Regions from separate parts of the Homo sapiens genome. Here all the other regions are linked to region 6. Evidence: promoter capture Hi-C in 16 types of primary human blood cells and fetal thymus (Javierre and others, 2016). All regions are on one chromosome and are shown on one strand. The core of a region is centred on a gene start or on the middle of the fragment in contact, and the rest is flanking DNA. Distances in the headings are between cores, read along the strand shown. Region 1 overlaps TPST1 (tyrosylprotein sulfotransferase 1). Region 2 has its middle 46 kb from the start of LINC00174. Region 3 overlaps TPST1 (tyrosylprotein sulfotransferase 1). Region 4 has its middle 5.8 kb from the start of LINC00174. Region 5 overlaps LINC00174 (long intergenic non-protein coding RNA 174). Region 6 holds the start of TPST1 (tyrosylprotein sulfotransferase 1).

Region 1 (4,472 bases), core at 1,089-3,588, 130 kb before region 6:
TGGATCATGAGGTCAGGAGTTCAAGACCAGCCTGACCAAGATGGTGATAACCCATCTCTACCAAAAATACAAAAACATTAGCCAGGCATTTGTGATGGGTGCCTGCAATCCCAGCTACTTGGGAGGCTGAGGCAGAGAATTGCTTGAACCCAGGAGGCGGAGGTTGCAGTGAGCCAAGATCATGCCACTGCACTCCAGCCTGGGCAACAGAGCGAGACTCTGTCTCAAAAAACAAAAATTTGTAGGTGTTTTATATACCTATGTGTGTATAAAATGTGTGCACATATATATAGAACCATGGTGTTTTGGTTACCATAGCTTTGTGGTATTCAAAGTCAGGCAGTGAGATGTCTCCAACTTTGTTCTTTCTGCTCAGGATAGCTTTAGGTATTCAAGGTCTTTTGTCATTCCACACAAATTTTAGGTTTTTTCTATTTCTGTGAAAAATGTCATTGGTATTTTGATAGAGATTATACTGACTCTGTAGATTACTTTGGGTAATACTGACTTTTGAGACGGAGTCTCACTCTGTCACCCAGGCTGGAGTGCAGTGGCATGATCTCGGCTTGGTGCACCCTCTGCCTCCCAGGTTCAAGTGATTCTCCTGCCTCAGCCTCCTGAGTAGCTGGGATTATAGGCACCCACAACCAGGCCTGGCTAATTTTTCTATTTTTAGTAGAGATGGGGTTTCACTATGTTGGCCAGGCTGGTCTCGAACTCCATAACAATATTAATTCTTCTAATCCATGAGTATGAAGTATCTTTTCATTTTCTATATGTCCTCTTCAATTTCTGTCATCAGTCTTTTACAGTTTTCATCACAGAGATTCTTCACTTATTTGGTTAAGTTCATGCCTAGGTATTTTATTTTTTTTGTAGCTATGTAAATGGGATTGCTTTTCTGATTTCTTTTTCAGATTGCTTGCTGTTGATGTATAGAAATGCTACAGATTTTTGTTATGTTGATTTTGTATCATGAAACTTAAGTGAATTTGTTTATCAGTTCTAGCAGTTTTTGGAGGAGTCTTCAGGTTTTTCTAAATACAGGATCATGTTATCTGCAAATAAAGATAATGTGGTTTCTTCCTTTCCAATTTGGGTACCCTTTATTTCTTTCTCTTGCCTAATTGCTTGGGCTAGGACCTCAAGTACTAAGTTGAACAGAAGTGGTTAGAGTGGGCATCCTTGTCTGTTCCTAATCTTAGAGAAAAATTATTCATTATTCAGCTTTTCACTGTTGAACATGACGTTAGCTGTGGGTTTGTCATATATGGTTTGAGATATGTTCCTTCTTTTTTTTTTCTTTTTTGAGATAAAGTCTCGCTCTATCACCCAGGCTTTGTATTTTTAGTAGAGATGGGGTTTCACCATGTGGGCCAGGCTGGTCTCAAACTCCTGACTTCAAGGGATCCACTCACCTCAGCCTCCCAAATTGCTGGGATTACAGGCATGAGCCACTACACCTCACCGAAGTATGTTCCTTCTATACCGTTTGTTGAGAATTTTTATCAAGAAGGGATGCTGAATTCTACTGAATGCTTTTTGAGCATCTATTGAAATCATCATATGGTTTTTGGTCTTGATTGTATTAATGTAATGTACTATGTTTATTGATTTGGGTATGCTGAATCATCCTTGCATCCCTCGGATTTCCACTTTATCATGATGATTTTTTTTTTTTTTTTTTTTAGGTTGAGGGGTACATGTGCTGGTTTGTTATGTGGGTAAACTGTGTGTCACAGAGGCTTGGTGTACAGATTATTTCATCACTCAGGTAATAAGCATAGTACCGAATAGGTATTTTTTCTGATCCTCTCCTTCCTCCAACCCCCCACCCTCAAGTAAGTCTGTTCTTCCCCTCTTCGTATCCCAGGATGATCTTTTTAATGTATTGTTGCACTTGGTTTGTTAGTATTTTGTTGAGGATTTTTGCATCTGTGTTCATCAGGGATGTTGGCCTGTCATTTTCTTGTTGCATCCTGTCTGGTTTTGGTATCAGGGTAATGTTGCCCTTGTAGAATGAGTTGGGAAGTAATCCCTTCTCTTCCAAAAAAATTTTTGTTTTGAGGAGTTTGAGTAGGATTGGTATTAGTTCTTTAAATGTCTGGCAGAATTTAGCAGTGAAGCAACAGGTCCTGGGCTTTTCTTGGTTGAGAGACTTTTTTTATATGGCTTCAATCTCATTACTCATTATTGGTTTGTTGAGGTCTTTTGTTTCTTCCTGATTCAATCTTGGTAGGTTGTATGTGTCAGAGAATTTACACATTCCTTCTAGGCTTTGCAATTTTTTGGTGTATAGTTGTTCATAGTAGTCTCTAATGATCTTTTTGTATATCGGTGGTATCACTTACAATGTCCCATTTTTCACCTCTGGTTTTGCTTATTTGGGTCTTCTCTCCCCCCACCCACCACCCCCCAACACTTAGTCTTCTGAAAGGTTTGCCAATTTTGATTACCTATTCAAAAAAACATTTTCATTTCATTGATCTTTGTATTCTTTTAGTCTTGGTTTCATTTACTTCTGCTCTTTTATTATTTCTTTCTATTAACATTGGTTTGTTTTTTAGATGCCTTTTTTCACGGAGAAAAAAAGAACAAAAAATTGGGGGTTTGTTTGGTTTTGCTTTTCTAGTTCCTTGAGGTGTATCGTTAGGTTATTTGAAGTCTTTTTACTTTTTTGATATAGACGTTTATTGCTATACACTTCCCTCTTAGAACCGCTTTTGCTGTATCCCATAGGTTTTGGTATTTTGTTTCCATTTTCATTTGTCTCAAGAAATTTTAAAATTTACTTTAAAATTTCTTCATTGGTCCATTTGTTGTTTAATTTCCATTAATTTGTACTGTTTCCAATGTTCCTCTGATTATAGATTTCTAGTTTTATTCCACTGTGACAAGATAAATATAATTTCAATTTTAAAAATTTGTTAAAACTTGTTTTGTGACCTAATGTATGATCAATCCTGGAGAATATTCCATGTGCTGTTGAGAAAAATGTGTATTCTGCAACTGTTGGATGGAATGTTCTGTAAATATCTGTTAGGTCCATTTGGTCCAGAGTACAGTTTAATGTCTACGTTTCTTTGTTTCTTTTCTGTCTGGATGATCTGTTCACATTGAAAGTGTGGATGTTCCCTAGTATTACTGTATTGCAGTCTATCTCTCTCTTTAGGTCTATTAATATTTGCTTTATATATTTGGGTGCTCTGGTGTTGGGTGTATATATATTTACCATTGTTATATCCTCTTGCTGTACTGACCCCTTTGTCGTTATATAATGGCCTTGTCTTTTTTTTAACCATCTTGATTTAAGTTTATTTTATGTGATAAAACTATAGGCTCTCTTGCTCTTTTTTGGTTTCCATTTGCATAAATTATCTTTTTCCATACCTTCACTTTCAGTCTGTGCTTATCTTTACAGATGAAGTGAGTTTCTTGTAGCCAGCATATGGATGGGTCTTGTTTTTTAATCCATTCTGCCACTCTTAATTGAAGAATTTAATCCATTTATATTCAAAGTTATTACTGACAGGTAAGGGTTTACTACTGCCATACTGTTCCTTGTTTTTGGTTGCTTTGTAGATTCTTTCTTCCTATTTTCCTCTCTTACTGTCTTCCTCTATGGTAAGTGATTTTCTCTAGCAGCGTGCTTTGATTTTGTGCTATTTATTTTTAGTGTATCTATTATAGGTTTTTGCTTTATGGTTACTGTGAGGCTTACAAAAAAATCTTATAATAGGTTATTTTAAACTGATAATCACTTAACTTTGCAAAGAAAAGTAACAAAAACTCTATACTTTAACACCGCCATTGCCATTTTGACTTTTTGATGTTTTGATTTAATCTTTTTATTGCTTAAACAATTGTCTGTCTCCTAAATAACCGTTGTAGTTACTGTTTTTAATAGTTTTGTCGGCCGGACATGGTGGCTCAAGCCTGTAATCCCAGCACTTCAGGAGGCCGAGATGGGCGGATCACCTGAGGTCAGGAGTTCGAGACCAGCCTGGCCAACATTGTGAAATACTGTCTCTACTAAAAATACAAAAATAAGCCAGGTGTGTTGGCACATATCTGTAATCCCAGTTACTCGGAGGCTGAGGCATGAGAATCACTTCAACCCAGGAGGTGCAGGTTGCAGTGAGCTGAGATTGCACCACTGCACTCTCCAGCTTGAGTGACAGAGCGAGGCTCTGTCTTAAAAAAAAAAAAAAAAAAAAAAAAAATTTGTCTTTTAGTCTTCATACTTAAAATATAAGTGGTTTACTCATCCCATTTGCAGTATTACAATATTCTGAATTTTTCAGAAGTCTTCTTTTACCAGTGAGTTTTCTTTCTTTTGCCGGTGAGTTTAATGCCATTAGATGCTTTCTTTTTACCCATTAGCATCCTTCACTTTCTGACTGAACAGCTCCCTTTAGCATTTTTTGTAAGACAGGTCTGGTGTTGATGAATTCCCTCAACTTTTGTTTGTC
Region 2 (4,300 bases), core at 728-3,227, 240 kb before region 6:
TCGCTGACTCTCCTTGGTGGTTTTAAAAACCTGTGTCCCAAAAGCCTCTGTACAGTGTGCATGATACTATGGAAAGAAGATTTACAATTTAGTGCAGAGTCTGTACTTTAAAAAGAAACCATTCTCGAGTTGGGTGCAGTGGCTTGTACCTACCTATAATCCCAGCTACTTGGAAGACTAAGGTAGGAGGATTACATGAGCCCAGGAGTTAGTGGCTGCAGTGAGCTGTGATTGTGCCACTGTATTCCAGCCTAGGCAGCAGAGTGAGACACCATCTTTGAAAAAATTAATTAGTTAAAAAAAGAAACAATCCAAGTGACTTTTATTTTAAAAATGTGTATGCAGAATGGTTTTTACCTTTGTTCTTGTTTCTCCCCACCCCGCATCTTTTTGAATGGTAGATTTGTACTTTCTATTTTTTGTTCTTTAGTTGCTTTTTGTCAGTAGAAAGCTTTGGGGATAAAGATCTTAAAGTATTTGAAAATTTATGTTAGAAGAGAAGATTCCATTATGTCTTTGTTTCACAGATCACTTAATATAAGTTAGCCAGGTAAATTTTGCATTTCACACTGATTACTTGTTTGGCCATCGTGTTTGGATAAGGTTAGCCTAAGTGCAGTTTTAATGTATTGGGTCTAGACTAGAAACAGACTTTTTGGATTTTGTATTCTTGATCTTCTTTAGTCCGTGATGCCCTTGCTCTTGGTATTTTGCTTGTTTCTGTTAGTAACATAAAGGAAAGCTTTTCGCCATACACAGCAGCTTGGTAGCAGACAAAATACAAATAACCTTCTAAGGAATTTGAAGAATATTTTCACATTTTTTTAGAGTTGGATTCACTTTCAGAGAAAGTAAATGGAATGTCTTGACTGTAAAGACTCAGTTAAAGTGTTTTAGTCTCCACAGTCATGGTGAGTGAGCTGTATAGAGGAAGTCATAGTGGTTGGCCAAGCTGAGATCACTTGCTTATACATTCCAAAGTGCCCTTTTCTTTCAGAACTCCTATAATCTTGTCATCCCAAGTAGAATCTTGTGTACCTCTTTCACAAACAGATCTAAAGACAGTGATCCTCCAAAGCGTATCTTTTCTTTTTTAGAGTTAAAATACCAATACCACCCAGACCTTAGATTCTAAATAGTATTATTCATTAAAGTGAGCCAGGGCTTCTTAGAGAAATGACTGATTCTGGGGCTGGGGCAGGGAAAAAAAGGCCCCTTCAATATTTTGGTTACATTTCAGAAGATCTAGAAGCCAGCTTGGAGGGGTTTCCACTGGCCAAGTCTGGGATAATTTGAGTGTCAAAATAAACAAGGACAATAAGGCCGGGCACGGTGGCTCACACCTGTCATCCCAGCACTTTGGGAGGCCAAGTTAGGCAGATCACCTAAGGTCGGGAGTTCGAGACCAGCCTGGCCAACATGGTGCAACCGCATCTCTGTCTTTTTTTTTTTTTTTTTGGCACAACCCCATCTCTACTAAAAATACCAAATTAGTCAGGTGTGGAGGTGTGTGCCTGTAATCCCAGCTACTTGGGAGGCAGAGTCAGGAGAATGGCTTGAACCCAGGAGGTGGAGATTGCAGTGAGCTGAGATCGTGCCACTGCACTCCAGCCTGGGCAACAAGCGAGACTCCGTCTTAAAAAAAAAATAAAGTGAAGAAATCAATAAATAAGGACAATAAATGAAGTATAACTGAACAAAATAATAATCCGTGTGTTAATTTAACTAGTAAAATAGAGAAATACAGCTGGCACGGGGGCTCACGCCTGTAATCCCAGTACTTTGGGAGGCCGAGGTGGGTGGATCACCTTTGCTTGGGAGTTCGAGACCAGCCTGACCAACGTGGAGAAACCCGTCTTTACTAAAAAAATACAAAATTAGCCAGGCGTGGTGGCAGATGCCTGCAATCCCAGCTACTGGGAGTCTGAGGCAGGAGACTCGTTTCAATCCGGGAGGCGGAGGTTGTGCTGAGCCGAGATCATGCCATTGCACTCCAGCCGGGGCAACGAGCAAGACTCCATCTCAAAAATAAAAAAAAAATAAAAAAAAATAGAGAAATACACAAATGAGAGGTTATAGTCATGTTAGTAGCAAAAATTGATTCAGGTAAAGTTTATCTGGGTGCTAAATCTTGGATGAGGGGAGGGAGTTTCCCAGGAAACAAGTTACGAACATGATCTCAAATTCACTGCCAATGAATTATTTATGTGTTTATTTTTCTTTTTTTCCTTTTTTTGTGGAGACGGGAGGTGGGTCTCGCTGTGTTGCCCAGGCTGGTCTTGAACTCCTGGCCTCAAGTGATCCCACCACTGTAGCCTCAAAGTGCTGGGATTACAGGTGTGAACCACCATGCCCAGCCAGATTATTTATTAATTATAAATAGAGAAATGGTAACTATAAAATGGGGATGTAGGAGGCAAGGATAGATGTCATGTGTGCTTCCAGACATGACACTTTGAGAACACAACATCATTTATGAAATATCTAAGCCGAAAATTTTTAACAACCTGAATCCAGTCATGAGGACACCCAATCTAAATGGCATTCAACAAGATACCTGGCCTGTGTTCTTCAGAAGTGTCATGCTGAGAGAAACAAAGGTTGGGAAAATTGTGAACTGCTCATTGTGAACAATTGAGAAACTTGGAATATGGATTTTCAATTGAGTAAAAGTATTTTATCAATGTAAATTTTCCTGAATTTGGTAGCTATCCTGTAAGGTACATAAAACAATGGCTTAATCCCTTTGCATTGCTATAGAAGAATACCTGAGGCTGGGTTACTTATAAAGGAAAGAGGTTCATTTGGCTCACAGTTCTGCAGGCTGTGGAAGAAGCATGGAGACAGGCCAGGTTCAGAGGCTCACGCCCGTAATCCCAACACTTTGGGAGGCCGAGACAGGCAGATCACTTGAGTCCAGGAGTTGGAGACCAGCCTGGCCAACATGGCAAAACCCTGTCTCTATTGAAAATACAAAAATTGGCCAGGCATGGTGGCCCATGCCTGTAATCCCTACTACTTAGGAGGCTGAGGCAGGAGTATCACTTGAACCTGGAAGGCAGAGGTTGCAGTGAGCCGAGAATGCGCCGGTGTACTCCCGCCTGGGCTGCAGAGTGTGAGACTCCTCAAAAAAAAAAAAAAAAAAGAGAGAGATTGGGCAATGGAAGGCTTGATAATCATGGTCTACTTGCTATTCCTGAAATACAAGCTTTGTTTCTGTATTAAAAACATAAGGTGCAGCTTGGTCCAGTGGCTCATGCTTGTAATTCCAGCATTTTGGAGACTGAGGCAGGAGGATCGCTTGATCCCAAGAGTTCAAGACCAGCCTGGGTAACATAGTGAGATTCCATCTCTTAAAAATAATAATAATTAGCCGGGCTAGTGCCTGTAGCCCCATCTACTCTGGAGGCTGAGGTCGGAGGATCATTTGAGCCTGGGAGGTTGAGGCTGCAGTGAGCTGTGATCGTGCCACTGTATTCCAGCCTGGGTGACAGAGCGAGACCCTGATTAAAAAAACAAACAAACAAACAAACAAAAACGCAAGGTGACTTTAAGTTGAAGAGCAAGCACTTGCCATTTGAGCCCTAGCCAAAACTATGAACTGTAATGTGGGTGAGGTTGTTCTTTTCCATATTTCCTTCTTCTTCACTTCTTTCACCTTACACACTGAATCCCTATTGGCTGTTCAAACATAACTAACCTCCTCCCTGTGTACCAAACACCTGAACTGTCTCTCACTTTCCCCTCTCTAATCCAAACTTGTGGCCTCTTAATAGGGGTTGATTTTTAGGAAGCTTAGAGAAAAACAACAAAGTGTTGATTTTAGTAACTTGTATGGTCATAACTAGCTAATAGAATTAATCTTCATTTACATTTTAAAAGGAGATTTTTTTTCTTTTTTAAGCAAAAGTGTCCTTTGGAAAAGTATGTGTGGGAGGGAAGCATGTTGTAAGCAAAGCAATAAAGGAAATGAGTAGGGTTTTCCTGTCTTTGACTGGTGTACAGACCTCCAAAGTCAGAGGGATTGGTGTTATTCTAAAGAGTCTTCAGTCCTCTCTGGCTTACTGAGGTGTAGTTATAGCATAGTCAACAGCTCAGGGTTTGGATTTAAGTGCACAGACCTGGGTTCAAATTCCAGTCTTTATAAGTGACTGCAACATTATTCAAGTTACTTAACATATTCAAGCCTCAGCTTCCTCATTTGTAAATATCATAAGTGTACTACCTGATAGACTTGTGAAGATTATACAAAATAGCATTGTAAAAGTACCTAGTGCATAATAGACATTACCTATATGTA
Region 3 (4,434 bases), core at 1,765-4,264, 150 kb before region 6:
AGCATCTGGAAGAAGAAAGTGAAGAGAATGAAACAAGGGAGGAGAAAGGCACCGTATATCAGGGAGCAGTAAGGCCACATTGTGGCAGCAGAATAGCTTAGACATTTATTATTAATTTTTTTAGATGGAGTCTCACTCTGTCACCAAGGCTGGAGTGCAATGGTGCTATCTTGGCTCACCACAACCTCCGCCTCCCAGGTTCAAGTGATTCTCCTGCCTCAGCCTCCCGAGTAGCTGGGATTACATGTGTGTGCCACCACACCTGGCTAATTTTTGTATTTTTATTGGAGATGGAGTTTCACCATGTTGGCCAGGCTGGTCTCCAACCCCTGATATCAGGTGATCCACCCTTCTTGGCCTCCCAAAGTGCTGGGATTACAGGTGTGAGCCACCATGCCTGGCCAGCTTAGACATTTAGATGTAATGTTAGGCATTGGAGAATTAAAGGTTTTGGAGCAAATGAGTGACTTAAAACAGTGTTAAACACAAGATTGATCTGACAGCAGTATTTTTAATTTTTTTTTTTTTTTTTTGAGAGATTCTCCCTCGTCGCCCAGGCTGGAGTGCAGTAGCATGATCTTGGCTCACTGCAACCTCCGCCACCCAGGTTCAAGCAATTCTCCTGCCTCAACCTCCCGAGTAACTGGGATTACAGGTGCACACCATGCCTGGCTAATTAAAAAAATTTTTTTTGTAGAGACAGGGTCTCCTTATGTTGCCCAGGCTGGACATATTCATTTTAAATGGAAAGGGACAGGGCTAGGGAAGTGGACTGCAGAGGACATTAGAGTCAGGCTTGTGCCTGGGCCCAGCTACATGCCAAGTCACCTGTGGCACTAGGTGGGGGGCCTTGTGTAAGTGACCTGACCTAGTTGAGCCTGTTTCCTGATCTGTAAAACAGTATGTATGTCAGAAGGCTCTTTGGAGGATTAGTAATTCACCAAGTATTTTACTTGGTTTCTTTTCTTTTCTTTTCTTTTTTTTAGACGGAGTCTCGCTCTATCACCCAGGCTGGAGTGCAGTGGTGTGATCTCGGCTCACTGCAACCTCCGCCTCCCAGGTTCATGCCATTCTCCTGCCTCAGCCTCCCAAGTAGCTGGGACTACAGGCACCCGCCACCACACCCAGCTGATTTTTTGTATTTTTAGTAGAGACAGGGTTTCACCGTGGTAGCCAGGATGGTCTCCATCTCCTGACCTTGTGGTCCGCCCACCTCGGCCTCCCAAAGTGCTGGGATTACAGGCATTAGCCACTGCGACCGGCCTTACTTGGTTTCTAGAAAGTGCCAGTTTGCTAGGTGCCAAAAGTACAACAGACAAGAAAAAACATAGTCTTGGAACTCCAGGAACTTATTGGCTGGTGGAGGAGACAGATAATAAAAAAGGCAACAAACAGATGAAACACTGCAAAGTGTGACCATGAAGAAGGCAAGCAGCGGGAGAATTACCTTTTAGTTTAAGAGGCCAGGGAAAATCCCTCTGAGTAAGTGAGGCTTACCGAGACCACAGAATTGAGAAGGAGCCTATCAGACAAAGAACAAAGGGGGCTGGGTGTGGTGGCTCACGCCTGTAATCCCAGCACTTTGGGAGGCTGAGGAGGGAGGATCATTTGAGATTGGGAGTTTAAGACCAGCCTGGTGAACATGGTGAAACCCTGTCTCTACTAAAAATACAAAAATTAGCCGGGCGTGGTGGCACATGCCTGTAATTTCAGCTACTCGGGAGGCTAAGGCAGGAAAATTGCTTGAACCTGGGAGGCGGAGGTTGCAGTGAGCCGAGATTGTGCTACTGCAGGCCAGCTGGGTGACAGAGCAAAACTTCATCTTAAATAGCCAAAGGGAAGAACATTCCAGAGAGAGGAGATATGTAGAGACAGGAAGAACTTGCTATGTTCTGAAAATAAAGATACTTCTAGAGCACAAGCGGTGAGGTTGGGAGAGAGGCCTGCGATGAGATGGAGAGGAGGACCCTGCCGGCCCTGACAGGAGTCTGGACTCTTTTAAGTGAAATGGAAGCCACTGAAATGTTTCAGGCGGGGAGGCTCCTGTCCAGATGTGCATTCTAAAAACTCTTATTCTGCTGTGATCCAAAAAATACGTTGAAGGTAGGATCAAAGATCTTGGATGCGAATGGAAAGAGGGAGGAAAAGGGTGAAATCAAGTGTGACTCTTCAGTTTCTGGCTCAAGTGACAGTAGAAAATACTGCAGTTACTGATATGGATATGACCTAAATGGATAGGTACAAGTTTTGGGGCAGAGATGGGATAACATGTTATATACCCTTTTCATGGCTGGCACATATGTGAACACACTCAATATGGGAATTATTACTACTATCTGGACATCCTGGGTTTCATAACAAAGGCTTCTAGAAAACAAGTGGAAATAGTAACTTCCATGTCCTTAAATACAGTCTGCAAGCATGAAATAGAACAGGATTCTCAAAGTGGATGGCAATAGGTTCTCTCTTGAAATAAAAAGAAAACTTCACTACAAAATGATAATGCAGGCCAAGCACCGTGGCTCACACCTGTAATTTTAGTACTTTGGGAGGCTGAGGCAGAAGGATCGTTTGAGCCCAGGCTGGGGAATGTAGCGAGACCCTGCCTCTACCCACCACCCCCCTCCAAAAAAAGGTGATGGCTCCAGGGGAGTATCTACAATACAGCCAACCAAGGAAACTTTGGTTTATCACATCAGCATCTGATAAGGTCTGTGCTTCTCTGAAATCACATTAATGAAAACATGTAACTACCAGAATGCTTCACATTGAAAGCTTTTATTTTGAAAAATAAAATACAAAAGTCATTAGGTTGTAAATGTATAATGGTAATTTCCCAACTTCTCAGAAACAATACAATGAATTAAATAATTAGGATATTTAATATTATTCACATCAATACACTTAAACAGGCACACGTGTTCTACAAAACATTAGAACATGTACAGACAACCTATTTCAAAAGGAGACTGCCCAAGTCTGCTTACAGGATCCCATTTTTAAACCCTCTCCTTGAAAACAAACGTCATAATGTAAGAAAAGAGAACAAGAGGAGTTTTAACAGGAAACACATGTTCCTTCTGGGCTCCTTACTGCAGGGCTGTGCATGAAATCGGGATCAAGAGCTCTTTGCTCAGGAGGCAGATCCCTCACGAGGCCCAAAGCTGTGCGGACACCTCCATCCTCTCAGTGGGAGGAAACTGGCAAATGCACAGGCGGCGCAGCCAAGGTGCAGACGCTCCACCAAGCTTGGCAGGGGACAGCCAATCCTAGGAATTTCCCTTCTGCTGAAAAGGCAGCAATCTTTCCTAGGGCGAACAAACAGAATGTGGTTACAGGTGTGGAGTCCCGGTGTGTTCTCCCTGTGTCTTCGTCTCTTCCTTCCCAGCTACAGGCCTAGACAAGCCAGGCGGTTGGGGAGGTTCCTGCAGATCAGGGGCCAGGAGGATGGATGTTGAGAACAGCTGCCTCAGGAAGACTGCCTGGGAGGCACACACACCCTCACTCTGGTGCTTTCAGATGCATGCAAGTAGCTGCTGGGTGCAAAGCAAGCAGATGGCCAAAACCAGGGCTGCTCCTGCCCATTTCTAAATAACTGACTGTCATCTGCTATTGTTGCTACTGTGGGGGCACTGTCAGGGGCACCAGATGTCCAGGGGTCAGCACCATGATTCCTCGTGTGAAGAAATGGGTCCTAAGGTTCTTAAAGTGTCCAGGGGTCAAGACCCTGATTCCTCCTTATGTGAAGAAATGGGTCCTAAGGTTCTTCAAGTGTCCAGGGGGCAGCACCCTGATTCCTCCTCATGTGAAGAAATGGGTCCTAAGGTTCTTTAAGTGTCCAGGGGGCAGCACCCTGATTCCTCATGTGAAGAAATGGGTCCTAAGGTTCTTTAAGTGTCCAGGGGGCAGCACCCTGATTCCTCCTCATGTGAAGAAATGGGTCCTAAGGTTAAGTGTCCAGGGGTCAAGACCCTGATTCCTCCTCATGTGAAGAAATGGGTCCTAAGGTTCTTTAAGTGTCCCAGGGGTCAGCACCCTGATTCCTCCTCATGTGAAGAAATGGGTCCTAAGGTTCTTTAAGTGTCCAGGGGTCAGCACCCTGATTCCTCCTCACGTGAAGAAATGGATCCTAAGGTTCTTTAAAGGAAGCTCCAGAGAACACAGATACTGTTATTGAAATGCCAAAGGGACCCAAAAGATAAGAAAGATAGTATCCATCCTAAGGGCTTTGCTGTGTCCCCAGTTCTCCTGAGTCCTCCTCAGCACAGGTTGGCCCCTCCCAACCTCCACACACAAGCCAGGGTGAAATGCTGCAGAGGCAACTGCTGATGCGGTCCATCCTACAACACGCTGGTAAAGAAATGAGGCCTTGTGTGTGTTTGGTGGGGCGGGCAGGGAGATTACCTATGAAGTTTGAAAGCATTTTGTATAAAC
Region 4 (4,309 bases), core at 1,541-4,040, 200 kb before region 6:
CAGGCTGCAGCGCAATGGCGCGATCTCCACTCACTGCAACCTCTGCCTCCCAGGTTCAAGTGATTCTCCTGCCTCAGCCTCTGAAGTAGCTGGGATAACAGGCATGCACCACCATGCCCGACTAATTTTTGTATTTTTCGTAGAGATGATGTTTCACCACGTTGGTCGGGCCGGTCTCAAACTCCTGACCTCAGGTGACCCACCCACCTCAGCCTCCCAAAGTATGGGGACTGCAGGTGTGAGCCACCATGCCTGGCCTGATGATTGAGTTTTTCTTATTATATCTGCATTTCTGCAGAACTTTAGTGGCTGAAGAAAGTACACTAGTGTTAATTTTCTTTTTCATGAAAGAAGTAATTTACTCTTCAGACAATTACTTGCCAGTCATAGGAAGGAAAAGTCAGGGTTTTCATCCACAATGATAGGAATTATTGTGACATTACAGGATGACTCTGTGATCAGCTTTAGGAAAAAACCCTGGTCATATCACAACCGTTTTACTAGCTGTGAGGCCACCATTGTTGGTAAAAAGTAAGTTTCTTTCTAGACCTGAACTAGTTATTTCCTAGTTACCTCCTGGAGTGGCTAATAAAATAAACACTAAAGGTAAGAGATTACCTGTATTTCGTATTATATTTCACTGCATTAAGACACTCTATATCAGCATTTTTTAAATCACACAGAATCATTGTCCACTATCTTTGTGGGACTTGCAGTTAGTTTCTTGCCTTTTTAAGGTATTTTATTTAATGGACTTCTTTTTCTTTAAAAAAATTTTGTTGGAAGTGTCACATTTGCAATCCCACTTCACTCATGTTTCCATGGCTTTGTTGAGCCCCCTGTGGAGGATTACACTACAAGTTTAATTCTGCAGGTTTCTTTGAAAAGAGTCAAACTGAAAGAATTTTAATGCTCTGCTCTTATAAAGCATCTCCTTCTGTATTTTTTTCTACAATATACTAAAGTAATTCTGTGCTCTATTTTACAGCTTCGCAGTTTCTAAAAAGACCACGAAGCCCTGAGAGTAATGAAAAGGTTCCTGAAATTGAGGTCACTGTGGAAGGTAAGGGCCAGTCCTTGCCATGTTTCTGTTAATTCTCCAGTTTAATAGTTATGTCAATTCACTAGCTTCATGTTTATACAGATGAAGGTAACCAAACTAGTTTTACCTGTGAACAGCTGCCTGTGATAAAGCTAAATTTCTGAATGTCTTTAATTGAAATTTTGAAAATTATTAACAGGGAGTAAATAACATGGATCACATCATAAACTGCACTAAAGAAAATCCCTAAAATGCTTTTCCTTTATTACAACAAATAAGGGTGCAGAGGGTCACATGGAATGTTTCATCTTTTGTCTGCTTTTTTTTTTTTTATTCTTTTAAGGAAAGGAAGTTGAGGGGTGGTTTAAACAGCAGTGCCTGGAATCAAAGTATTTCCTACGACACCCTCTAATGTACTTCCTTCTCTCCATGCCCACGGGGTCTGCAGGGTTCTCATCTTTTCATGTTCACAGTATTAAAATACTTCATACAATACCAAAGACAGTTCCCAACCAACCATCAAATATGGGTATTTCTTCCATCTCCTCATAATTGCAAAAGGAAATAACTGCGTTAGGATCATTCTTTTTTATTTGGAGATGAAAGTCTCGCTCTGTCATCCAGGCTGGAGTGCAGTGGCATGATCTCTGCTCACTGCAGCCTCAGCCTCCTGGGTTCAAGCAATTCTCCTGCCTCAACTTTCCGAGTAGCTAGGACTACAGGCGCACACTGTCACATCTGGCTAATTTTTTTTTTCTTTTTTTTTTTTTTTTTTTGAGACGGAGTCTCGCTCTGTCGCCCAGGCTGGAGTGCAGTGGCGCGATCTCGGCTCACTGCAAGCTCCGCCTCCTGGGTTCACGCCATTCTCCTGCCTCAGCCTCCCGAGTAGCTGAGACTACAGGCGCCCGCCACCAAGCCTGGCTATTTTTTTTTTTGTATCTTTAGTAGAGGCGGGGTTTCACTGTGTTAGCCAGGATGGTCTCGATCTCCTGACCTCATGATCCACCCGCCTCTGCCTCCCAAAGTGCTGGGATTACAGGCGTGAGCCACCGCGCTTGGCTACATCCGGCTAATTTTTTGTATTTTAGTAGAGATGGGGTTTCACCATGTTGCCCAAGCTGGTCTCAAACTCCTGAGCTCAGGCAGTCTGCCTGCTTCGGCCTCCCAAAGTGCTAGGATTACAGGTGTGAGCCGCCGCGCCCAGCCTAGGATCATTTTTTTCTGTCCTAGGTGTTGATTTTTTAAATAAGAGTTTGCAGTACTGGTGTTTAGTGGTGCAATAATTTCCATTTAATCATCTGGCATACGCAGAGAGTATACCAGATGACTGAGAGTATATCTCACAGAGAGTATACCAGATGACTGAATGGGGATTAGAGCGAGTATTTAAACTCTTCATTCATTGATCCTGTTAAAGGAAAGCTTACTTAATAACATAAACTCTTGGTTATGAATTAGATGTTTCTCCTATGAAAGCTTGTGGGGATCTTTGAGCAACTTAATACCTGATTATTTCTGTTCAAAAATGCCGAGAACTAAAAATCCATTCAAACCTTTACTTTTCTCCTTTTGGAAAAGTGCATGAGGTGTTCCTTTTGGTAAAAAGACACACTGTGCGACCACAGAGACCTGAGCCTGAACCCATGAAGATGTGAACAAGGTGAACAATGAGACTATGTAAAGGGGAGGTTAATTCCAAGGTGACAGGAACTTTATGGAGAAGATTATGATTTCTACACTTTGTATCCCCTTCTAACTCTAGTATGAAGTTACATTGTATACGTTGGTGCTCTAATCTCAGTCTGTGGATATTAGATATTAAGATTGGGGAGAAAATAAAACAGCCAGTTAATGTGCACCATTTTTATAGGCACTGTCAGTAGCATATAAGAAATAGCATGTTTCTCAAAAGTAAATTAGTTCATAGTAGTCAGTTGGCACATTTGGCAGGTACTTCTGTGAACTTTTTTTTGCTATCTTTAAACTCTTCATTCATTGATCCCGTTAATCCAAAGCTTATTTAATAACATAAGCTTTTGGTTGTCAATTAGATGTCAGGAAAAACAGAGAAATGAACAGCTAATATAATGAGTTAAAAGGATTGAGGCTGTAGGAATAATGTTACCAAGAATAACTTGAGGATTGTTTGCTACTATAGCTAGCTGTGATTATCAAAATAGGGAGATGCCTGTTTTTCTCACATAAAAGTAATTGTGCAGGTAGGCTGAGGCTGACATTGGTTCAGTTGCTCAAACATGGTAAGACTGGCTTCCCTGTGCCTCTCTTCACTCTCCTTTCTGGTGCACAATGACCAAGAGAGCTCCTGTCGTCATGTCTCCATCCATCATGTCTCCATCCAATTATAAGTAAAGAAAATGCAGCATGAGCCCTGCCTGCACCCACAGTCAGGAAAAGCAAGAGGCTTTTTTTGAATCCTAGCAGAATTTTGCATAAGCCTCTTGGTTTTAAAAAAGGTGAATTTTAAAATAATAAAATAAAATAAAGCACAAACTCTGAGGCCAAGGTAATAGGATTTAAATCTGTGCTCTGCCACTTAGAAAAATTACTTAAATTCTCTATTCTTTAGGTTGCACACATATAAAATGGGAGGAAGAAAATAATATTTGACTCATGGTTTTTAAAATTTGAGGTGTTATTTCTTTAATAAACAGCTGCTATCATTTGAGAACACTTGCTATTTAGGCAGTTAGGAATTTTTCATTAGAAGGGATGTAAAGAAAGACGATGGGCATTTGTAATGGATTTAACATTCATCATTTGGCTGCCTGACTGACCCCCAGAGCTGTGATTTTACTAATGAATTTTTCAGAAGTCCCTTAGCTAGCAATGAGCCTAACCAGCCTCCCACTCTCACCATTCAGTGCTCTTGTTCTTATGTGTTTCTCTACAAACTTGGTTACTCTCACAAAGTGATAAAAACTTGCATTTCTTTTCTTTCCTTTTTAGAGACAGGATCTTGCTCTGTCACTCAGGTTGCAATGCAGTGGTGTGATCATGGCTCGCTGTAGATTCAAACTCCTGGGCTCAAGCAGTACTCCCGCCTCAGCCTCCCAAGTAGCTTGGACTACAGACGTACACCACCATGCAAAGCTAAATTTTTTATTTTTTTGTTGTAGAGATGGGATCGTGTTATGCTGCCCAGGATGATCTCAAACTCCTGTCCTCAATTGATCCTCCTGTCTCAGCCTCCCAAAGTGCTGGGATTATAGGCAGCCATGGGCCATCTGGGTCCAGTCTGCTATTTTC
Region 5 (4,609 bases), core at 578-3,077, 170 kb before region 6:
CCCAGCTGGGTCTACAGTCCCATCTCCTGACTCAAAACAACCTATTTTGGCTCGGCTCCTGCCCAGCACCTGGCGGCCTTTGTAGGCCTAAAGCTTCCTCAAGTCAAGCGTTCCAGGCCCAGATCATGCTGCCCAGGGGCCTTCACAGGCCCAGCTACTGCCTGACGATGGCTTCCCCAGGCCCAGGTCTTGCCTTCCCCCAGCCTCCCGAGGCCCAGCCCTTGCCTCACAGTTGCTTTCCCAGTCCACGTTACAGCCTGTTACCCGACGGCCTTGACAGACCAAACTCTTCCTTCACACTGGACAGTTTAGGACAAGCTCATACGTCTTCCAGCCTCTCCAGGTCAAGCTCCTGCCTCACACTGGCCTCTATAGGCCCAGGTGCTGAATCGCAATGGTCTGTTTAGGTCCATCTCATGCCTTTCTCAGACTCTCCAAGCGACGATCTGGCCTGACACTTGCTTCTGTGGGCCATGTGATCACTCACACTGGCCTCTTTAGGATCAGGGGATGCCTCTCCACAGGCCGAGATCCTGCCTGTTGTAGGCCCCTTCAGGATGCGCCGCTGCCTGACAGTGGACCCTCCAGGCCTAGATGTTACGTGATCATGGCCTCTGCAGGTCAAGAATTTAAATTTTCGCAGCCTCTATAGGCCAGGCTACTGCCTCCTGATAATGGCTTCTGCAGGCCCAAATCGTCCTGAAATAAGCCTCGCCAGGAACAGCACGTGTGTTGGATGCCCGAACAACCATAGCTTCTCCCGCACAGTGGCCCATGGGGGCCGGGCTCTTGCCTCAGCCTGGCCACCTCAGGCCCAGTTCTTGCCTGTTGGCGGCCGCTCCAGGCCCGGCTCCTGCCCCTCGGCCTCCTCTCCAGGCCCAGAACTGGTTCCCGTCGGCCTCTCCAGGCCCAGCTCTCCCGGCCACCTCCACGGGCCCAGCTCCTGCCTCACGACAACCACGTTCGGCCCAGCTCCTGCCCAGCTCCTGGCAGCCGTTGTAGGCCCCAGGCTTCCCTGCGTTCAGGCCTCCCGGACCCACCTTCGGCTTTCCGGCGGCCCTGAGAGACCCGGCTCCTGCCTGCCAGCGGCCTCTCCCGGCCCAGCTGCGGCCTCACGTCGGCCTCCCCAGGCCACGTTTCCGCCTGCCTCACGGCAGCCCCGGCAGGCCCGGCTCCCGCCTGCCGGGGGCCTCTTGAGGAGGCTCATCTCGTGCCCGGCCGCGGCCTCCCCAGGCCAGGCTCCTGCCTGCCGGCAGGCGCCACAAGCCCAGCTCCTGCGTCCCGAAGGCTTCTCTAGGCCCGGCTCGTGCCTCGCTGCGGCCTCTTGAGGCCCAGCTTTTCCCTTGTGGTGGCCTCTCCAGGCCCAGAACTTCCTCAAGTCGGCCTCCCCCGGTCCAGTGGCTGCCTCCCGGCCTCCTCTCCGGGCCCAGCTCTTTGCTCGCGTCTGCGCCCGTGGGCCCAGCTCCCGTCTCCAAACAGCCTCCTTCGACTCGGCTCCTGCCCAGCTCCCGGCGGCCTTCGTAGGCCCGAAGCCTCCTCCAGTCCAGCTCTCCAGGGCCGCGTCTTGCCTCGCCTCGCCTCCCCTCACCTTGCCTCACCTCGCAGCAGCCTTTCCAGGCCCAGCTCCCGCCTCCCGGCGGCCTTCCCCTGCCACGCTCGTGCCGGCCTCCCGGCAGCCTCCACCAGCCCGGCTCCTGCCTCACGCTGGCCCCTCTGGGCCCAGCTCATGCCTCGCGGTGGCCTCTCCGGGCCCAGCTCCCACCCAGCCTGACGGCGCCTCCCGGCCCCAAGCTGCCTTCCTCGATGTGGCCCAAAGTGGCCCAAAGCGTCCCAAAGTAGGCCTCGCCAGGCCCACCTCCTGCCCGGCGTAGGCCCTGAGGGGCGCGGCCCCTGCCCCATACTGGCCTCTTTTGGGCCCTCTCTTACACCAGCCCCTGTCTCAGGATTGTCTCTTCACGCCCATCTTCTGCCTCATAGTGGTCACTCAAGGCCTCGCTTTTGCCTGATGATTGCGTTTTCTGGTTTTGCTCTTGCCTTGTATTCCCTTCTTCGGGATACAGCTTTTACGTCTTCCATGGTGAACCTCATCAAGGAGACTAAATCTTCCCTGGTCTGTCATTTTTTTCACTTCACACCAGAGTGCCTTGGGAAAACCCCATCTCTTCTTTTAACCTTGAGAGTGGATTTCTGACGAATTGATAATAAATTTTTTCTCTGTGGTTTCAGTGATTTCTGTTTTATTTAATGTCCCATGGTGTTTTTTTGTCTGCTGGGGGTGAGGGTGGGAATGAATTTTTGGCCCTTTGTCTTTGCCCCGGAGATGGTAGCTTCTCACTTCATTTCTTCTGTTTTTATATTATTTACTGTTTTCTTTTCTTTTTTTCTTTTTGTTTTTCCTTAGGTTCTTACTCTGTCACCCAGGCTGGAGTGTAGTCATGTCATTATGGCTTACTGCATCCTTGGCCTTTTGGCCTCAAGTGATCCTCCCAACTCAGTAACTGAGACTATAGGCACATGCCAATATGCCTGGCTGATTTCTGTTTTTTTTATGAGGTTTTTTCTCACTAGGTTGCCCAGTCTGGTCCCAAACTTTTGGACACAAGCATTCCTTTTGCCTGGGCCTCCCAAAGTGCAGAGATTACAAGCATGAGCCATCATGCCCTGCCTGCAATTTTTCTGTCATGAACTATTAATAATTTACTTTTTGCTTAATATTCTATGACTATATATATTTATGTAAATATAGATACTTTAAATTTTTCTTTGATACCAATTTTTCCGGTTTTTTTTTTTTTTTTTTTTTTTTGAGGCTGGGTACTGCTTCGTCATTCAGGATGGAGTGCAGTGGTGTGATCTCGGCTCACTGCAAACTCTGCTTTTTTGGCTTAAGTGATCCTCCCACCTCAGCCTCCTGAATAAATGGGACCCCAGGTATGAGCCGCCATGCCCAGGTAATTTTTATATTTGTTCTAGACAGGAAGTCTCACCATGTTTCCCAGGCTGGTTTCAAACTCCTGGGCTCAAGCGATCCTCTCACATCAGCTTCCCACAGTGCTGGGATTACAGGTGGGATCCACACCTGGCCTGCCATTTTCTTTTCATAGATCATTAAGAATTTACTTTATGCCGGGCACGGTGGCTCACGCCTGTAATCCCAGCACTTTGAGGGGACGAGGTGGGTGGATCACGAGGTCAGGAGTTCAAGACCAGCCTAGTCAAGACAGTGAAACCCTGTATCTGCTAAAAATACAAAAGTTAGCCATGTGTGATATAATCGCAGCTACTCAGGAGGCTGAAGCAGGAGAATCGCTTGAACCCGGGGAGAGGAGGTGGCAGTGAGCCAACATCGTGTCACTGCACTCCAGCCTGGGTGACAGAGTGAGACTGTCCAAAAGAAAAAAAAAGAACTTGCTTTTTGATTAGTATACTGTAAATATATATATGTATATGTGTTATATATTTGTATATGAATATATGTGTGTGTATATTTTCATAGCGCACACACACACACATATATATTGTGAAAGAGATATCTGAATACCTAGAAACTGATAAGCTTCTTCCAGGTTTTGAAACCACCCTTAGAACAAAGACAAAAGAAGTACAAAGTATCATTATTAATGACCATGGACCAAGATGACCATGAGTCAATAGTACTTTGCACCTCAACCACCTTCCAGCAGAGCATCTTAAAGGGCTGGATGTATCTGAACATCACACCCTTTCACAGGGACTAGGATGCTTTGTAATTGTTACTTCTCTTAAGACCTCAGTGTGACCCTTGTCAACGTGAAATCAAACTATTTCTCAAATGATAGAGATATTGAATAACAGCTTTGGTCAGGAAATAGGTATTGCATTTGGTTCGTCATGATAAGTTCCTGGCCTAAGAAGATGAAATATTGCAGAAATGTGTGTGTGTTTGTGTGTGTGTGTGTGCGTGTGTGAACATTCTTGCGCACAGATGTGGGGGTGGAAGTGGGGTTTGAATTTGATAAGACCAGCAGTGGGCAGGCTGCTGGGAGGGGCCACTTGTTTTGGCAGTGGCAGTGTAACTCTAGAATTAACAAATGCTTCTAAGCCTCAGTTTTCTCTACTGGAAAATAAAGACTATAATTCCTGCCTTGATATGTGGATTAGGTGATCTGCTATATGCAAAATATCTAGTATATAATAGGCGCTGAACTATTGCTACTTTCTGTAGCTCATTCTTAATCACTGCTTAATTTTAAAAAGTTTAGAACACTGCTTTTATAAAAATTATTTGTAATTATTATGTAAAATCTAAGTCCTATAGAAAAGTACAAAGCAGGCCGGGTGCTATAGCTCACATCTGTAATCCCAGCACTTTCGGAAGGCAATGTAGGAGGATTGTTCAAGGCCAGGAGTTTGAGACCAGCATGAGCAACATAGCCAGATCCCATCTCTATAAAAAATTAAAAACTAGTTATGGTAACGCACACCTGTAGTCCCAGCGACTCAGGAGGCTGAGGGAGGTGGATCACTAAAACCCAGGAGTTTGAGACTGCAGCCTGGGCAACAGAGTGAGACCCTGTCAGAGAGAAGGAGGGGGAGAGAGAGAGACAAGAGAGAGAAAAGAAAAGTACAA
Region 6 (4,264 bases), core at 478-2,977:
AAGGTGGCAAGAATAGTACAGGGCCAATGACAATGCTTTTATCATTTTAAAAAGTCAAACGTATTTTACTCTTTTTTAAAAATCGACTCGCTATTTCCTCCAAGAGCGAGTGTTTGGAGAGGGGGAGGGAGAGGGGTGGATAATTCCTCTCTCACTCTTAGAGGACTTGTCAGAAGTTTCATTCTTAAGCATATTTGGTCTGTACAGCAGCTGATTCCAGGAAATCCAAATCCTGATTCCTCCTGGATCTTAAAAGATGAAAATTCATTGCAGCTCCCTGGACTATCCAGCTAATAGATAAACACGTACCACATTGCTTATATACTATGCCACTTTAGCTGGGAGGTAGGGGCTCTTTCTTTCCTAAAAAGAAAGTTACCCAAACACTGCAGATGGGGATGGAGAGGGGATGGGGAGTAATTACACCGCAAAGCCTGCTGACTAGCAGCCTAAGAATCCTTTACAAAGGCAATTAACATAAAACAATACATGGCACGGATAGCAGAATTGTTTCTTCTTAATGAATGCAGTAATTGACCATTTAATCGCTTTACTGGAGTTCACCAATTTCTCCTGCCATCTCCCATACCATTCTTCAGGCAGAGTCAAATCCCTGTGGACACTGGACTTCTTGCTACCATCATCTGGAAAGTACAAAACGCCTGGAAGGAGGAAGAGGCTAACATGCGTGACCACCCACCATGTGCCAGGCCTACTGTGTGCTAGACTCTGGGCAAGGGACTTTACATGTTATGGGGTGCAGCTCATGTAAGGACGAATGAAGATATTACACTATGGATCTGAGCCAGGCGCAGTGGCTCACGCCTGTAATCCCAGCACTTTGGAGGCCGAGGCAGAAGGATAGCTTGAGGTCAGGAGTTCGAAGCCAGCCTGGGCAACATAGAGACTCCATCTCTCAAAAAAAAAAAAAAAAAAAGCGATGAATCCGGCATTGCAGAGAGTGGGAAAGTGTCTGGAGGTTTAAGAGTAAGAGAAGGAAGAGGAGATTGCGATGGTGGGTGGTCAAAGTGAGGGGAGAAGAGGCGAGTTGGGAAAGGAAGGTGCTTAGGAGCAAAAGGGCAAGACCCAGGGACACCTGGAGCGGGGCGGGCGACTGCCATGCAGACAGGACTACGTACAACGGGTAGGATGATGGGGCGATGAGCTCAAGAAGCGCAGCCGGGGTAGACGTGGGGGCAAATGTCCGATCCCGGCGAGACGAGGGTCTCATCCCAGGGGACTGCGGGGCTAGGACGTGGTCCCAGGGCTGCGAGAAGGGAGAGAAAGGGCAGAGGGGAGAGGCCCCGGCGGCCGGGGCGAAGCCGAGCCCGGGAAATGCCGGCGATGGGGGAAGGGGCGTGGGAGCAGGGGCCGGACGGGCCAGACCCGGGGCTCCGCGCTCGGGGGCGGGGTTGGACAACCGGGAGGCACCGAGCAGAAGGCGACAAGGGGCCAAGGGATGCCAGGACGGGGCACAGGGCCGGGTGTGAGGAGACGAGAGGGGAGCGGAGCCGCAGCGAGCGCCGCGTCCCCCTTACCTGGGATGAGTGAGGAGCCGCCGCGCCGCCTGGACGGCATCCTGGCCTCAGCCGCTGGTCCCACCGCCTTCGGTGGGGGGCCACTCGGGAGCCCGCCCTCACCGCCAAGCGCCGGCAGCTGCCAGCCTGGACCGGCCCCGCAGAGCAGCGCCGTTCCGACCCGCAACCGAAGCCGCCTCAGCAGCGTCTCCCGCGGTCGCCAACTCAGCGACAACCGCCAGGGTCCGGGGAGGTGGCGGGATCACACATCTGCTACGATTGGCTGAGCGGACGATGTGTCGGCTGCTCTGATTCGTGAGTTCCGGCCGGCTGCCCACCGAAGGAGGCGCGGCTGGGAATGGAGCTGGGTCCGGCAGGCGCCGAGGGGCGGGGGTCTGACGTCGCAGCCGGCCAGCGCCCCCACAGCCCTTCCCGTGCGCGCTCCCGAGGGGGCTTCCCGGCAGCCGCAGGCCTGGCCGGGTGGTTGCCCTAGCAACAGCGCGCGTGGCCTGGCTGCAGGGGAGCCGCGGGCAGGTGGCGGTCCTCACCGCCCCCACCCCCAACGTGGGTGTCCCAGAGGCCTTCATCAGTGAAACCCTAGGACAGGAGAAGAAAATGAGCTTTTCCTGATAATTCCTCTCCTCTGCTTCAGAGCCCACCTTTGCCCGCTGCTGGCAGAGAAGCTGTCATCTCCTCGGGGAGATAACGCGCAAATGCAAATAACGAACTCAAACACTATTTCATCCCCACGAGAGTGTAGACGTGCAATAGTCCCTCCCAACCACAGAGGTGGGGGGCTGACGCCCTAAAAGAAAGAAATGAAAACTAGGGAGAAAAAGGCAAAGAAGCAAAAGAAAGGTGGGGAAAGGGCAGATATTTCACAAAATGATCCATTCATTTTACAGTTTCTTCCTACAGACACATCTACACCAGGTTCTGTCAAAGCAATTATTTCTACTCCAGTGACATGGATTAGAGAAGGCATGAGTGCAGAATCTAACAGCTGTATTCAAAATTGCTCTCTGCTAGGCCAGGTGGGGTGGCTCATGCCTCTAATCACAGCACTTTGGGAAGCCAAAGCTGGTGAATCACCTGAGGTCAGGAGTTCGAGACCAGCCTGGCCAACATAGTGAAACCCCGTCCCTGCTAAAAATACAAAAATTAGCCGGGCATGGTGGCGGACGCCTGTCGTCCCAGCTACTGGGGAGGCTGTGGCAGGAGAATTGCTTGAACCCGGGAAGGTAACTACCTTCCTTTGCACACAGTATAATATTTTCAAAGTTCATCCATGTTGTAGCATGTATCGGCACTTCATTCCTTGTTACGGCCGAATAATAGTCCATTATACAGACATCACCTTTTTTTTTTTTGAAGAGTCTCACTCTGTCTCCCAGGCTGGAGTGGAGTTATGTGATCTTGGCTCACTGCAACCTCCACCTCCTGGGCTCAAGTGATTCTCATGCCTCCGCCTCCAAAGTAGCTAGAATTACATGCATGTGCCACCATGCCTGGCTAATTTTTATATTTTTAGTAGAGACGGGGTTTCATCAAGTTGCCCAGGCTGATCTTGAACTCCTGGCCTCAAGTGATCTGCCTGCCTTGGCCTCCCAAAGTGCTGGGATTACAGGCATGGGCCACCGTGCCTGGCTGGACATCATCTTTTATTTATCCATTAATCCATTGATGGACATCTGTTTCTACTTTTTTGGCTATTATACATGATGCTGCTATGAACATTTGTGTAGAAGTTTTTGTGTGTGGCCGGGTGCAGTGGCTCACGCCTGTAATCCCAGCAGTTTGAGAGGCCGAGGTGGGCGGATCACAAGGTCAGGAGATCGAGACCATCCTGGTTAACACGGTGAAACCCCGTCTCTACTAAAAATACAAAAATTTAGCCAGGCATGGTGGCTGGCGCCTGTAGTCCCAGCTACTCGGGAGGCAGAGGCAGGAGAATGGCGTGAACCCGGGAGGTGGAGGTTGCAGTGAGCCAAGATTGTGCCACTGCACTCCAGCCTGGGCAACAGAGTGAGACTCCGTCTCAAAAAAAAAAAAAAAAAGAAGTTTTTGTGTGGACCTCATTTGATCTTTACAGCAACTGTCTAAGGTACATATGATATCTCCTTCTACAGATAATCAGCTGACTGGGTGTGGTGGCTCACGCCTGTAATCCCAGCAGTTTGGGAAACCCAGGCAGGAGGGTCCCGTGAGCCCAGGAGTTCTAGGCTGCAGTGAGCCATGATGGCACCACTGCACTCCAGCCTGGGTGACAGACTGAGACCTTGCCTCTCACCCAAAAAAAAAAATAATAATTATATATATGTGTGTGTGTGTGTGTGTTTGTGTGTATATGTGTGTGTGTGTATATATGTGTGTGGGTGTATACACACACACACACAGAGATAGATAAGAAAACTGACTATAAGATGGTAGACAGCAATTTTGTTGTTTGTTTGTTTTTGTTTTGAGATGGAGTTTCGCTCTTGTTGCCCAGGCTGGAGTGCAATGGTATGTATGACCTTGGCTCACTACAACCTCCGCCTCCCGAGTTCAAGTGATTCTTCAGCCTCAGCCTCCCCAGTAGCTGGGATTACAGGCGCCTGCCACCATGCCCAGCTAATTTTTTTGTAGTTTTATTAGAGACAGGGTTTTGCCATGTTGGCCGGGCTGGTCTCAAACTCCTGACCTCAGATGATCTGCCCGGCTCCACCTTCCAAAGTGACGGGATTACAGGTGTGAGCCACCGCGCC

The links. The method cuts DNA at HindIII sites, captures the fragments that hold promoters and counts their contacts. A CHiCAGO score of 5 or more calls a contact.
Region 1: a contact is called between a fragment that was not itself captured here and the fragment with the promoter of TPST1 in region 6, in 6 of 17 cell types (M2 macrophages, M1 macrophages, M0 macrophages and 3 more). The highest score is 15.0, in M2 macrophages.
Region 2: a contact is called between a fragment that was not itself captured here and the fragment with the promoter of TPST1 in region 6, in 3 of 17 cell types (M2 macrophages, M1 macrophages and M0 macrophages). The highest score is 7.3, in M2 macrophages.
Region 3: a fragment that was not itself captured here is called in contact with the fragment with the promoter of TPST1 in region 6 in 6 of 17 cell types (M1 macrophages, M0 macrophages, M2 macrophages and 3 more); the score reaches 18.0 in M1 macrophages.
Region 4: a contact is called between a fragment that was not itself captured here and the fragment with the promoter of TPST1 in region 6, in 5 of 17 cell types (M2 macrophages, M1 macrophages, M0 macrophages and 2 more). The highest score is 12.2, in M2 macrophages.
Region 5: a contact is called between a fragment that was not itself captured here and the fragment with the promoter of TPST1 in region 6, in 7 of 17 cell types (M2 macrophages, M0 macrophages, M1 macrophages and 4 more). The highest score is 18.7, in M2 macrophages.

Annotation. Positions count from the first base shown.
Region 1 is chr7:66,337,051-66,341,522 of GRCh38, reverse strand. All of the region lies in intron 3 of TPST1 (tyrosylprotein sulfotransferase 1), which reads right to left. Among named protein-coding and RNA genes, the nearest start is that of LINC00174, 61 kb to the left of the region's middle. The HindIII fragment of the contact is 5,399 bases long and covers 1-4,472 here.
Region 2 is chr7:66,443,824-66,448,123 of GRCh38, reverse strand. It overlaps the pseudogene RABGEF1P2. Among named protein-coding and RNA genes, the nearest start is that of LINC00174, 46 kb to the right of the region's middle. The HindIII fragment of the contact is 2,466 bases long and covers 745-3,210 here.
Region 3 is chr7:66,358,769-66,363,202 of GRCh38, reverse strand. It overlaps TPST1 (tyrosylprotein sulfotransferase 1), which reads right to left. Exons shown (of 6, transcript NM_003596.4): 6 at 2,760-3,308. Among named protein-coding and RNA genes, the nearest start is that of LINC00174, 39 kb to the left of the region's middle. RefSeq lists a silencer at 579-743. The HindIII fragment of the contact is 473 bases long and covers 2,778-3,250 here.
Region 4 is chr7:66,404,044-66,408,352 of GRCh38, reverse strand. It overlaps the pseudogene GTF2IP9. Among named protein-coding and RNA genes, the nearest start is that of LINC00174, 5.8 kb to the right of the region's middle. The HindIII fragment of the contact is 539 bases long and covers 2,521-3,059 here.
Region 5 is chr7:66,373,675-66,378,283 of GRCh38, reverse strand. It overlaps LINC00174 (long intergenic non-protein coding RNA 174), which reads left to right. Exons shown (of 5, transcript NR_026873.1): 5 at 1-2,240. Among named protein-coding and RNA genes, the nearest start is that of LINC00174, 24 kb to the left of the region's middle. The HindIII fragment of the contact is 3,463 bases long and covers 96-3,558 here.
Region 6 is chr7:66,202,797-66,207,060 of GRCh38, reverse strand. It overlaps TPST1 (tyrosylprotein sulfotransferase 1), which reads right to left and starts at 1,727. Exons shown (of 6, transcript NM_003596.4): 1 at 1,539-1,727. RefSeq lists silencers at 1,325-1,684, 1,835-2,104. The HindIII fragment of the contact is 8,515 bases long and covers 1-4,264 here.